Linked DNA regions of Homo sapiens: region 1 is linked to region 2. The links are contacts of gene promoters, found by promoter capture Hi-C in blood cells and fetal thymus (Javierre and others, 2016). All regions are on one chromosome and are shown on one strand. The core of a region is centred on a gene start or on the middle of the fragment in contact, and the rest is flanking DNA. Distances in the headings are between cores, read along the strand shown. Region 1 holds the start of SNRNP48 (small nuclear ribonucleoprotein U11/U12 subunit 48). Region 2 holds the start of TMEM14B (transmembrane protein 14B).

What was found. The method cuts DNA at HindIII sites, captures the fragments that hold promoters and counts their contacts. A CHiCAGO score of 5 or more calls a contact.
Region 1: the fragment with the promoter of SNRNP48 here is called in contact with the fragment with the promoter of TMEM14B in region 2 in 1 of 17 cell types (fetal thymus); the score reaches 5.1 in fetal thymus.

What each region holds. Positions count from the first base shown.
Region 1 is chr6:7,587,562-7,593,458 of GRCh38, reverse strand. SNRNP48 (small nuclear ribonucleoprotein U11/U12 subunit 48) reads right to left here and starts at 3,261. Exons shown (of 9, transcript NM_152551.4): 1 at 3,046-3,261. The coding sequence starts at 3,201. RefSeq lists enhancers at 3,037-3,186, 2,765-3,504. The HindIII fragment of the contact is 5,411 bases long and covers 1-4,493 here.
Region 2 is chr6:10,744,262-10,750,159 of GRCh38, reverse strand. TMEM14B (transmembrane protein 14B) reads right to left here and starts at 2,355. Exons shown (of 6, transcript NM_030969.5): 1 at 2,279-2,355; 2 at 892-958; 3 at 462-538. The coding sequence starts at 914. TMEM14B-DT (TMEM14B divergent transcript) reads left to right here and starts at 2,576. Exons shown (of 2, transcript NR_187231.1): 1 at 2,576-2,699; 2 at 5,846-5,898. RefSeq lists silencers at 2,326-2,385, 2,341-2,561, 2,396-2,625 and an enhancer at 2,746-2,795. The HindIII fragment of the contact is 12,296 bases long and covers 1-5,318 here.

The sequences.
Region 1 (5,897 bases), core at 2,012-4,511, 3.2 Mb after region 2:
TAACGATTCCTCACTCATTGCCACCATCACCCCACTGAAACCAGTCAATAGGTCACTAATAACCTTGTTACTAAAGCCAAAAACATGTCACTGTCTTGTTTTATCTGAACTCTTGGAAGGTCACACTCCAATTGTCCATCTGTGATTCTGACACACCCCTCATGTTCTTTCTACCTCTCTGGCTTCTTCTACTTGGTCTCCTCTAAATATCCTAAATATCTGTCTTCCTTGCTCTATTTGTCCCCCTTTAGATGTTGGTTTTCATGTAAGTATTAATATAACCACTGACCTTTTGCTGTTTAATATATGCTTACTGAAAGATCTCAAAGCTACAACTCTCACTATACAGTGAGGACTCCCAAAATTTAGATCTTTAAACCTTGTTTCTCTCCAGTACCGTATATTAAAGACACTAAAAGTTCAACACAAACAAAAATAAATTAATTATATTCATCATCTCCCAACCCTCAAATCTATTCCTTTTGTACTTTTCTATTTCAGTGAAAGGTCCCCCTTGCTCAAGCAAGAAACTACTTCTCCCTCATCACCCACGTCCAATCAATCACCTAGTCCTGCCAATTTAACTCCTAAATATTTCTGAAAATCCCTCAACATCCTCCATCCCCACTGCCACTTCCCCAACTCAGGGTATCATCAACTCTCTCCTGGAATACAACACCATCTCCTGACTACGCTCGCTCGCTCTCTCTCACTCTTGCTCTCTCTCTCTGCTTCCAGTCTTGCTGCCCTCCCCTTCAGTTTCCATCCTGTAGCTGGTTTGAATTCCATCTCTGCCACTTACTGGCTGCATGAAACTGGGTGAGGTACTTAATCTCTCTTTGCCTCATTTTCTATTATATAAAATAAAAATAATAGCAGGACCTCTCTCACAAAGTGATTGTGAAGATTTAAAAAAGTATACCAAAGTTTATACACATAAAGGAATTCAAATAGGGCCTGGTACATAGCAAGCATTCAATAAATGTATGCTATTATTTTATTAAAAGGTAAATGTGATTATAATATGCCCTGGCTTAAAATAATTCCATACCTCCCCACTGCCTTCATTAAAAAAAAAAAAAAAAATCTAGACTTTCTAATATGGCTGACAAGGACCTTTAAGATCTGACCTCTACCCACCATCACCATTCTACTCTAACTCTACACTCTATGCTCTAGCTATCCTTAACTACTTGAGGCTTCCCGATCTGGTCACTCCCTGTCTCTGAACTTCTACACATGCTGTTGATGCTTCTTCCCCGCACCCGCCAACCCCCTAGCCAATTCAACTCACTTTTATTTATCAGCTTAGAATTCACTTTGTCCAGGAAGCCTTTGCTGACCACCACTTTGTCCACCACCGCCTACAATAAACTGTACTATAGCAATTCCAACCCCACCCATCACAGACCCATGATAATATAATGGTTCAGTTATCCGTATTACCCCTCATCACCACCAGACAATAAGCTCTGTGAGGACTAGGAACTAGGTGACAACTAGGACTAGGAACTAGGTGACAACTAGGACTAGCTCTGTGAGGACTAGGAACTAGGTGACAACTAGGAACAGATGACAACTAGGACTGTTGTTCACTAAATTTCAGTACTAAAACACCGGCGGAAATCCTAACTGCCATTTACTAGCAGTGTATCCTTCGACAAATTATCACTTCTGTGTTCCTTTCCTCGTCTATAAAATGTGGCCAAAGATACCTACCTCATAGGGTTATTTTGAGTATTAAATGAAGTAATGTAAGTGGCAAACAAAGTGCTATTTAAACGTTAATACAAGGAATCCAATGTTACCGCAATGCTGAGTAAACAATGTATGGAAGGGTCTGGTAAGCCCCACTCAGTGGAATTCCCAGCTTCAAATACCCCTCTAAATGAATATTAAAGATTTTTTAATTTCCTCTGTGCTTTTAATACAATAAACAATGAATGGTATATACAGAAATCAAATATATTTTAAATGCCTCTGAGGAATCAGTCATGTAACTTAAACCCAGGAGAAATTATCACAGCATGGTAAACCCAGAAGTAATAGTAAAGATAATGAATTACCCCACATTGGAGCACTTCCCTTCCTCTCATTCCACCGAAAATACCCCACAAAAAAACAAAAATCACGAATGTTCACTCTAAATACACTTGCCTACATTTTTAAAAAAGCAATTCTAATGTCCACAGGAGTTGCCAGTTACCACCTCTTGGTGACAACCTTTAATAATCCTAGAATTGGTGCTGTCCCAGTCAGAAGTGTCCAATTTTAAGGCACAGAAAGGCGAACTGGCAAACTCCCAGCTCTCCTGACACCGAATCTGGTGCAACTGCGGAATCCGTATGACAGATGACAATGCAAACCGCCAATCCCTCTGCAGCGCTCTGAGACACGTTCACTTATTTTCTAAATAAATACCAAATCTGCCATTCCCTCCTCACTCAACACACCTTCCTGGATTTTGTTTGTTTGTTTTTTGAGACAGGGTCTTGCTCTGTCGCCCAGGCTGGAATGCAGTGGAGCGATCTCGGCTCACTGCAGCCTCGACCTCCTGGGCTCAAGCTATCCTTCCACCCCAGCCTCCCAAATAGCTGGGGCCACAGGCTCACACCACCACACCCGGCTAATTTTTGTACTTTTGGTAGAGAAGAGGTTTCACCATGTTGCCCAGGCTAGTCTGGAACTCCTGGGCTCAAGGGATCCTCCCGCCTTGGCCTCTCAAAGTGCTAGGATTACAGGCGTGCGCCACCGCGCCCGGCCCCCGGTTTTCTTTAAACTCGAAGTTGCGCGGGAGGAGCGCCGCACTGGAGGTCGATGTGGAGCCTTCGGGAGTTCCTCGCGCGCCCCAGCCCGGAACCCAGGGACGTCAGGGTTGCTCCAGGGCCCCCGGCGCCCCTCGGGTCCCAGGCGCCCATCGCGGCTCTGCACACGGACGAGGACTCCTCGCCCTTCCCTCCGCGGCTGCCAGTGCGGATCTCCCTTCTTCCAGAGAAGACCCCGGGCCGATAGTCCCCGAAAGGGCCCCGCGGCCGCGCTCCTCACCTCCGCCGCCTCCTCTTCCCCGGGATCCAGACTATCTAGGTCCCAGCCCAGGGACGCGGTCACCTCCTCCAACGTCCGGCAGCCGCTCTCCACGAACTCGTTCAGCTCCTCCTGCAGCCGCCGCCGCTCCTCCACAGGTGGAGGCTCGCCCTCCATAGCTGCAGCCCACCCGCCAAGAGGAAGCGGCCGAACTGCAGACCGCACGCGCAGGCCTCTGGGAGCTGTGGGCGGGGCCACAGTCGCCACGTGACTTGAACAGCCTATAGGGAAGAGTCCCGGGAAGGGCGGGACTGTTATTTTGAGAGGCGTTTTCCAATCTTTTCTCAGCTCTTGCGTGCATTTGCTCTGGCCTTTCCAGAAAGATATTCGCCCTCCTCGACTTCCTCAGAAAAAACGGCTTATAGCTACAGAAAAGTTTTAAAAATAGTACAATGAGCTTTCGTTTAGCCGTCCTTCAGCTCATTGTTAACATTTTGCCAGGTTTGATTTCTCTCCGTCTCTTCTCTCCACATTCACAGCCCCACCCAATGATTTTTGCTGAATTCTTTGAAAGTAAGTTGCAGATTTTTCACCCCCAAATATGTTAGCATGCATGTTCTAAGAATAAGAACATTTTCCTGTGTAACCGCAATACATGATCAAACCTAAGAAAATTAGTAAGTCCATAAAATCATTTATTATACAGTTCATATTCAAATTTCCCCATTGTCCCCAAAATTATTTCTATAGCAGTTTTATTTTTTCAACTCATAAGCTATAATTAGTTATTGTCTCTTTTAATCCAGATCAGCCTCCTTCACCCTCCTTTTTAAATTATTAAATCATTACATGTTGTGATGAGCCTAGGCCAGTTGTCTTGTAGAATCTCTCTCATTCTGGATTTGTCAGATTTTGTTTCCCTCATGATTAGATTCAGTTTGAGCACTTTTGCAATACTACCTAAGAGATGTTGCCAACTCACGGGGACGCATAACTCAGTTATATTAGTAATGCTAAATTTGATCACTTGGTAAAGGTGGTGGCTACATCTCTTCATTCTAATAGTACATTTTCCTCTTAGGAATTGGTAAGCAATCTGTGGATTATACCTTGAGTCCATAAGAATAACCTGTTCCCCAACTCCTTGATACAGTCCTTCACTGAATCTGTTGTTACATTAGGAGTTATAAGTGATTCCGCAATAGTATCATGCCTTTTATGTTTATTAACTGGCATTCTTTCCACACCTCCATTTTAGTGTTTGCTTCACTATGGGAATCAAGGTGTTTTTAAAGTTATTGATTTAAGGTTTTTTTTTAATTCAATATAATATACTCCTTTAACATCATAATTCTTGTTGATGCTCAAATTGTCCCAAATGTGGCCAGTGGAAGCCACATTAAGCCATCTGTGTCTTTCATGTATCCCTATTAGTCCTTGAATGCTTTCTTGCTTTGATAACACAAGCTTAACTTTGTACATTTCCTACCCAACACCTGGAATTAGCCCTTGTAGTTTCCCCAAATGGTTTCAACTCCTAGAATCTAACCCATTTTATATTACTTTTTAAAATTTTTTCAAGCCCAAGTGTCAAACCTTGGTTTCCTTTTGCACTTTGTTTACCCATGTGAAGGAACTGTGGGGGAATTTTTTGGTGAACAATTATTTCTAAAGGCAAATAGCACGGTTCTCACTTAAAAAAATAGTCATAAGACTATAAATAGGCAGCACCATAAAATACAGAAGTGGCTAGAAGCTGGTAAGAGAGGAGTATGAAGTTAATGTATTCATACTCTGCCTACAGTATCTTTTTTTTTTTTTTTTTGAGACGGAGTCTGGCTCTGCCACCCAGGCTGGAGTGCAGTGGCGCAATCTCAGCTCACTGCAACCTCCATCTCCCGGGTTCAAGCAATTCTTCTGCCACAGCCTCCCGAGTAGCTGGGACTACAGGCACATGCCACCACACCCTGCTAATTTTTCTATTTTTAATAGAGATGGGGTTTCACCATATTGGCCAGGCTGGTCTCGAACTCCTGACCTTGTGATCTGCTCGCCTCAGCCTCCCAAAGTGCTGGGATTACAGACGTGAGCCACCGCGCCCAGCCCGGTATCCTTACTTTTTATTTGCATTTCCATAGTTAGCTGGTTGGTCTGGAAAAATGTGAGACTATTTCTGATGTGACATGACTCCTGATAAAAAGTTCTAGTGTATATTTCCCTGTTTGTATATGTGAACCAAATTAAAACTTAGCCCACGTCAAACATATCCTCTCTTCAGGATACAGCCCCATGTCATCTCAGAGCTTCATGACAACATTGGCACAAGCCTGGAGGGAGTAGGAAAGATTTGTCAATTGACTGTACTCTCTAGTTACTGTTTCAGCCCGAGGAACTGCTCTACACTGATGCTGCTGATCTGTTTTGATATCACTTTCCTGGAGTGGTCTCCAGACTCCTGTTCTAGGCTAGGCCTCTGTTATGGATTGGATTGAGTCCCTCAAAAATGCCTATGTTGAAGTACCAACCCACAATGTGACTGTATAAGGAGATAGAGCCCTAAGAGGTAATTAAAGTTAAATGAGGTCATAAAGGAGGGGTGGGTACTCTAATCAGATAAGACTGATAGCCACCCATGAGCCAGGTTTCACTAGAAACCAGCCCTGCCTGCATCTTGAGCTTGTACTTTTAGCTTCCAGAACTGTGAGAAAATACACTTCCGTTTAAGCCGCTCACAGTCTGTGGCATCTTGTTATGGCAGGGTGAGGTGACTAATATAGTCTCCCAGCTCTAGCATAAGGAATTTCCTTCATTTTTCCCAATACAGCATTTACCACATTTTCTTCTTCCTTTTGGATTATGAGGGCTCTTTTTCA
Region 2 (5,898 bases), core at 1,106-3,605:
AATAAGAAGTCTGGTGCAGGGATTGGGGTGGGAATGCAGGCAAGGACTAGGGGGCAAAAACAAGCACAGCCACTGACACACCCCTGCCTGGCCTAATGAGGAAACTTCAAAATACCAGTCTGTGTAGGCCAGAGGTTGACTCCTACTTAAGCCCAGAGATGGCACTTGGGGGTCATGGCTGATGAATGGCAGTCAATGATAATAACAAACTACAACCACCCCTGCCTACCTTTAGATAAAGAGGCAAAAATAAGTAATTCCACAAGAGGCCTGGCTCAGCTTCACCAGATAAGCAAAAGGCAAGGGCAGGAGCTGCAAGACTGACAAGGAAGCCTGCACTCCAGCTTGGGGACCTACAGCAAAGCTGAGTCAAACGAGATTGCTTCTCAGGGACACAGGCACTCACATTTCACTGGAACAACGTGAAGATGTTAAGAGGCTAAGTAACAACAAAACCCTACCTGTTTTTACATAGCCAACGATCCCACCAGAAACAACCAGTGCTGTGTAGCCAAAGCCAAACCAATGCAAAGGCACTCTGAAAACACAAGAGAAGTCAGTGAGAAGTCAGTGCTAACCTGGATTTAAAAACAAACCATATTGTCATAGGATGGGGCTAAAAGGTAATCATTCCCCACAGGTCCTATGTGCCCACAGGTACTATCACTGAAAATAAGCACCACAGAGGTTGGATGACTTTCTGAGAGTCACACAACTAAGCAAAGCTAGAGCTGGGACTCAAACCCAAGTTTCTGGCCCACAGGTCCAGTGATCCTCCCATCCCGCACGCCATCCCAGGCAGTCTACTCTTAGGGTTCTTTTCAGCTGAGGAAAGGAACTCTGGTTTCCAGAAGCTCCTGGCTACTCTCTAACCATTTACTGTCTACTCACAATGGGAAGAGGGGCTTCTCCATTCTTCTCTTCTCAGTCCAGAAAGGAGACTACCCCAGGCCTGCATCTGGGGAAAACAAGCCGGATCAGCAGTGGTTAAAAGCACAGCTCCCCAGCAGTCAGAAAGAAGTGTGTCCAACCTGCAGGCTATGCAACCTAAGTCTCAGTATCCTTCACTGTACCATGAGGATAACACTGGTACCAATTTCCTGGGGGTGTTGTGAGCATTCAATGGATGTCACATGTAAAGGTGCTTAGCACCTAGTAAACCCTGAACAGATGCCGATCATTTCACATAGGTCCACAGGAAACTCAGCAAGATCCACTGACCAGCTCTATAATCAGGGAATGTGTTAGTCATTTCATTAAGCACTCACATTATCACTAAATCGGAAAGCAAATACTCCCGTGCCCTTAATCCAACTACTTTAATGTCTCTTTTGAGGGGTGGTAGGGATGTTGCTTTTCTTCACTGATGCAACAGCCAATTTCAATACTCAATTTTTTTTTTTAGAAACTTCTGCATCCAACTCACAGTTCTCGTTAGGAGGGCAGAAGGGGAGGGTAAAATACACGGAAACTCAAGTCAGAATCACATGTGACATTGCACCCTTGGAAAAACAGCTCCTATTTTCTTACAGAAAAGTATTCTGTATGCAGTGAACCTAACAAGATGGAAAGCAATGCATACGCCGTTTATTCTGTTTAAAGAATTAGGCCAGGCAAAGTGGCTCACGCCTGTAATCCCAGTACTTTGGGAGGCCCAGGCAGGCGGATTACCTGAGGTTAGGAGTTCGAGAACAGCTTGGTCAACATGGTGAAACCCATATTCTATTAAAACACACACACACACACACAAATCGGGCATGATGGCATGCACCTGTAATCCCAGCTACTTGGGAGGCTGAGGTGGGAGGATGGCTTGAGCCCAGGAGGCAGAGGCTGCAATAAGACATATTCAGGCTACTGCACTCCAGGCTGGGCGACACAGCGAGAACCCCTCCCCACCCCCCAAAAAAAGAAAGAATTAATTTCCCATAAAACGGGGAAGGGCAGCGGGCTTGGGATCTTGCCCACAGTTCTTAACTCGAGGCGGCACTGAGTAAGGGAGGCTTTTAAAGAGCTGGAGCAACAAAACCACCAGGAAACGAGGCAACACTATGCTACAAGGGTAAGCCTTTGCCTCAGGAGCTCAGGTGCTCCGAGCATCCACAGCCTCTTTTAAGACAAGCAGAAAATACCCAAGGAGAAAAGCACCGACCACACGGCATAAAGGCCCGCTGAATCGGGGGGACGAAAAGCAGACGGCCGTGAAACTCCTAAATAATCCCTAAAAGTTAAAAGTGGCAGAAAATAAAAACAATACTCTCCAAAGACCTGCACCGACCTGCCGAAGGCCCGCGGAGTCCACTACGGAGCGCAAGCCGCGGGACACAGCAGCCAGGTCTCTCCGGAAACGCGATTGCGTGCGCGCTGCGCCCCGGGGCCGCGGCAGGGCGGGGAGAAAGGCGGGACGTCGTGGCGCGTGCGCAGTGTCCTTGGAGAGAGGTGAGCGGAGAATGGGGACAGTGGGGGCGGGGCTTGAGCCGCGGATTACCAGCACGCGCCCTGCATCCCGGGGGCGGGGAGTGAGGCGGGGCATCGCGGCTAGCGCCGTTGGCGGGGAACCGGGCGGGGAATCTCTGTGCTTCCTCAGTCCCCAGGCCCAGCACCTGCAGGGCCGACCAGCTCCAGTCCCAGGTCCAATCCTGAGTGGCCAAAAGCCGGAAACCCGGAGTTGGAATTGGATCTTGCACAAGCTGGACCACGTAAGCTGGGCCAGGCCAGAGGTGGAGGCCACCGCTGCGGGAGGAGGGCATCTGATGATTTTGAAGGACCCCATTAATAGAGGGTATAAACCAGGTGCGGGCCATCAGGGAGGATTGTCACTCTGGCCCGATCTTGTTTGTTTACACCAGGAAGGGCCTGCCTTCCACCTGCAAGAAAATATGGCAGCTGCAGAATAATGTGGCGCAATGCCAAATATCCGTTTGTTTTAGGGAGTGAGGCTACTTGAGAAGCATCTTAAATGGGGAGAGAGAGCAAGTTAAATCTGATTTCCACGCAGCTCTGTGGATTCCGAATGTCCACAGTATGATGTTATCTCCATTCCCACTTCCGAGCCGCTCCTCTTCTGTGTTTCCTGCACCACCATTCGCTCAGTTGCTCTACACTAAAATTTGCTGTCATCGTTGACTTCTCCCTCTCCTTCATCCCCTACAAGTATCAACATAGACAACTCCGATCAATATAATCATCAGTGAATAAAGCAAATTGCAGCGCATATTCTTAAAGACAAACTTTCCACTTGCAGCAGCACCTACCTTCCAGATAGCTAAATTGAAGCCCGTGTTTATCATAGCTGCTTCTAACCAGCCAGAGCTGATAATAACTAAGAACTTGCAGGAATTGCAGTATGCCAGACCTTCAATTTAATTGAAGACTTTCCTGAACAATTAATGAGACTTGTCTTAACCAGCAGGGAATGGCTTTAGGGACTCATTCTTCCCTATGCAGGTGCAAGCCTCAAACCTTAATTAGGATCATCCACCATGATCCTCGAGCCCTTCCCCACCTTATACTTGAAGAGGCTGAACCTCAGAGAATTAAATTACCTACAGTCCTGGTCACTGGTAGAGCTATTATTTAAAGTAAGGTCTAATGTCAAAGCCTGCGTCCTTAATTCTACCATATGCTGCTTCTTGCAGTGTCGTTCCTCAACCAGAACACATAGCTCTTCTGTGTAGGTAAAGTCCATCAAAACATGTCATAAAATAAATTAAAGAAATTGGTTTCTGCTCTATTTCAATTAGTACCAGAGTAAAACAATCAATGATTTGTGTTTGGGAATATTTCTAGTTGGCATTAACGTTGTTAGGAGATAGCTTAGCTCTTCACTGGGGGCCCACTGAATTATCGGAACCCTGGAACACAAATGTGTCAAAAGGGTGTAATCAAAATTATGTCAGGGAATGTTAAGTTTCTAGTCTTTGGTCACTGAGGCCTATCAGTAGGTTTGGGTGTTTTGTTTTGTTTTTCCCACAAAGAGGCTTTGAGTAAGAATTGTGTCTGGTAGACAAACACAGGTACACACACAGGTGTGTACTCACACAGCAAGAGCAGTAGAGATCATCTCCCACAACACAAGAGCTCATGAAGAAAGGGAATTGAGCTTCAATGTAAGCATTAGTTTAGCATTTTTGGAGCCTGAATGTGTTGACTTTACAAATTAAGAAGTCCCTGAACAAAAACGTCAAAAACAAATCCCAAGTTGCAGTCTGCCCAGGTAATTCATGTCTATCAAGTGTCTACAATACCAATTTCTACATCTTTGGGAGTATTTTATAGGTTTGTTTGAAGAGCAAGGTCAATAACTCTTTCCCCAAGAAATAAATGAAATCATAAAAAAAAAACCGCCTATTTTCTTAACCTAACCTATCTGCCATCTACTTCTGGATCATATTCATTGGAGCCATAAAAATATTAGCAGAAGCATATGCAGTTCTTATTATCTGCCACTGTTGGAAGCGCTTTACATATGTTAACTAACTTACACTTCATACCAACTCTGTGCAGTGACGACTATGATTATCTCCTGCTTTACACATGGAAGAAATTGAGGCACAGACTACAAGGTCACACAGCAAATGGCAGAGCTGTCCTAACTCTGCATTTGTTTCTTGCAGTGAAGAGTCTTTTTTCTGTCTCTTAGTCTGTTCTCAACACAGTGACCAGAGCACTTGGGTTAGAAGTCTGACTGTGCCATTTCTCTCCCCAAAACCCTCTGGTGGCACCCCTTTTCTCAGGCAGTGCTTTGCAAAGCCCCACACATCCTCCTCCCTGACATCAGCATCTTCTCTTTCCCCCTCACTTGTGTTTCCTTCTTGCCCTCAGCTGCTTCATCTGCCTGGAACGCCTCCCCAGACAATCTCCTGGTTCACGCCCTCTCCTCCTTTCTGTCTTTACGCAAATGTCACTTCTCAGAGAGACCTTCCCTAATCACCTGATTTAAAACTTCAACTCATCTGCATTTCCCCCGACAGCATCTTTCCTTCCATGACAATTCCCTGCTAACCTGCTCTGTAACTGGCTTAATCATCGTAGAGCCTACCTCCCCCTTTTTTGCATGTTTGTTTCATGGGAGTGATGATATTTATGCAGCATTTAGCACAGTGCCTGGCCCATAACCAGTACTCAGTAAACATGTGTTGAATGGACAAGTAGATGTGGAGTGAGAAATGAGAGGGGTGGTCGGCAGACAGGAGAACAAAGGCCACATGTACAGTTTGCCCTGGCTGTACCCTGGCTCTGGTTCTTCCTGCCTTGGCCTCAGCCAGATACACCTGTGTCCTTCTCATGTACTTACCCCCACGTCCTCTGTTGAAGCTTAGGACATCCAGAGTTGCATTTGTTTCTTGCAGTGAAGAGTCTTTTAAAATCTGAAATAGGCTGTGAGCGGTGGCTCACGCCTGTAATCCCATCACTTTGGGAGGCTGAGGCACATGGATCACCTGAGGTCAGGAGTTCGAGACTAGCCTGGCCAACATGGTGAAACGCTGTCTCTACTAACAATACAAAAAAAAAAAAATAGCCGGGTGTGATGGTGCACGCCTGTAATCCCAGCTACTCAGGAGGCTGAGATGGAAGAATCGCTTGAACCTAGGAGGCAGAGGTTGTAGTAAGCCGAGATCACTCTACTGCACTCCAGCCTGGGTGACAGAGGGAGACTCCATTTCCAAAAAAAAGAAAAGAAAAATGAAAAATTGAGTTGACATCATGGGCCCTGTGTCATTCAAAAACTCAACATTTCACTAATCAGTCAAGCTGCCCATGACTGCCCCAGGCCATTGCATTCAATATGTTAATTTATTTACCAAAGCTGTGTCTTTCAGAAGGGTTGTGTTTTTCCTTTTAGCCCTCAGAATCTAGGATAGCACCTGGCACACATGGTGAGCACTCACTTCATGG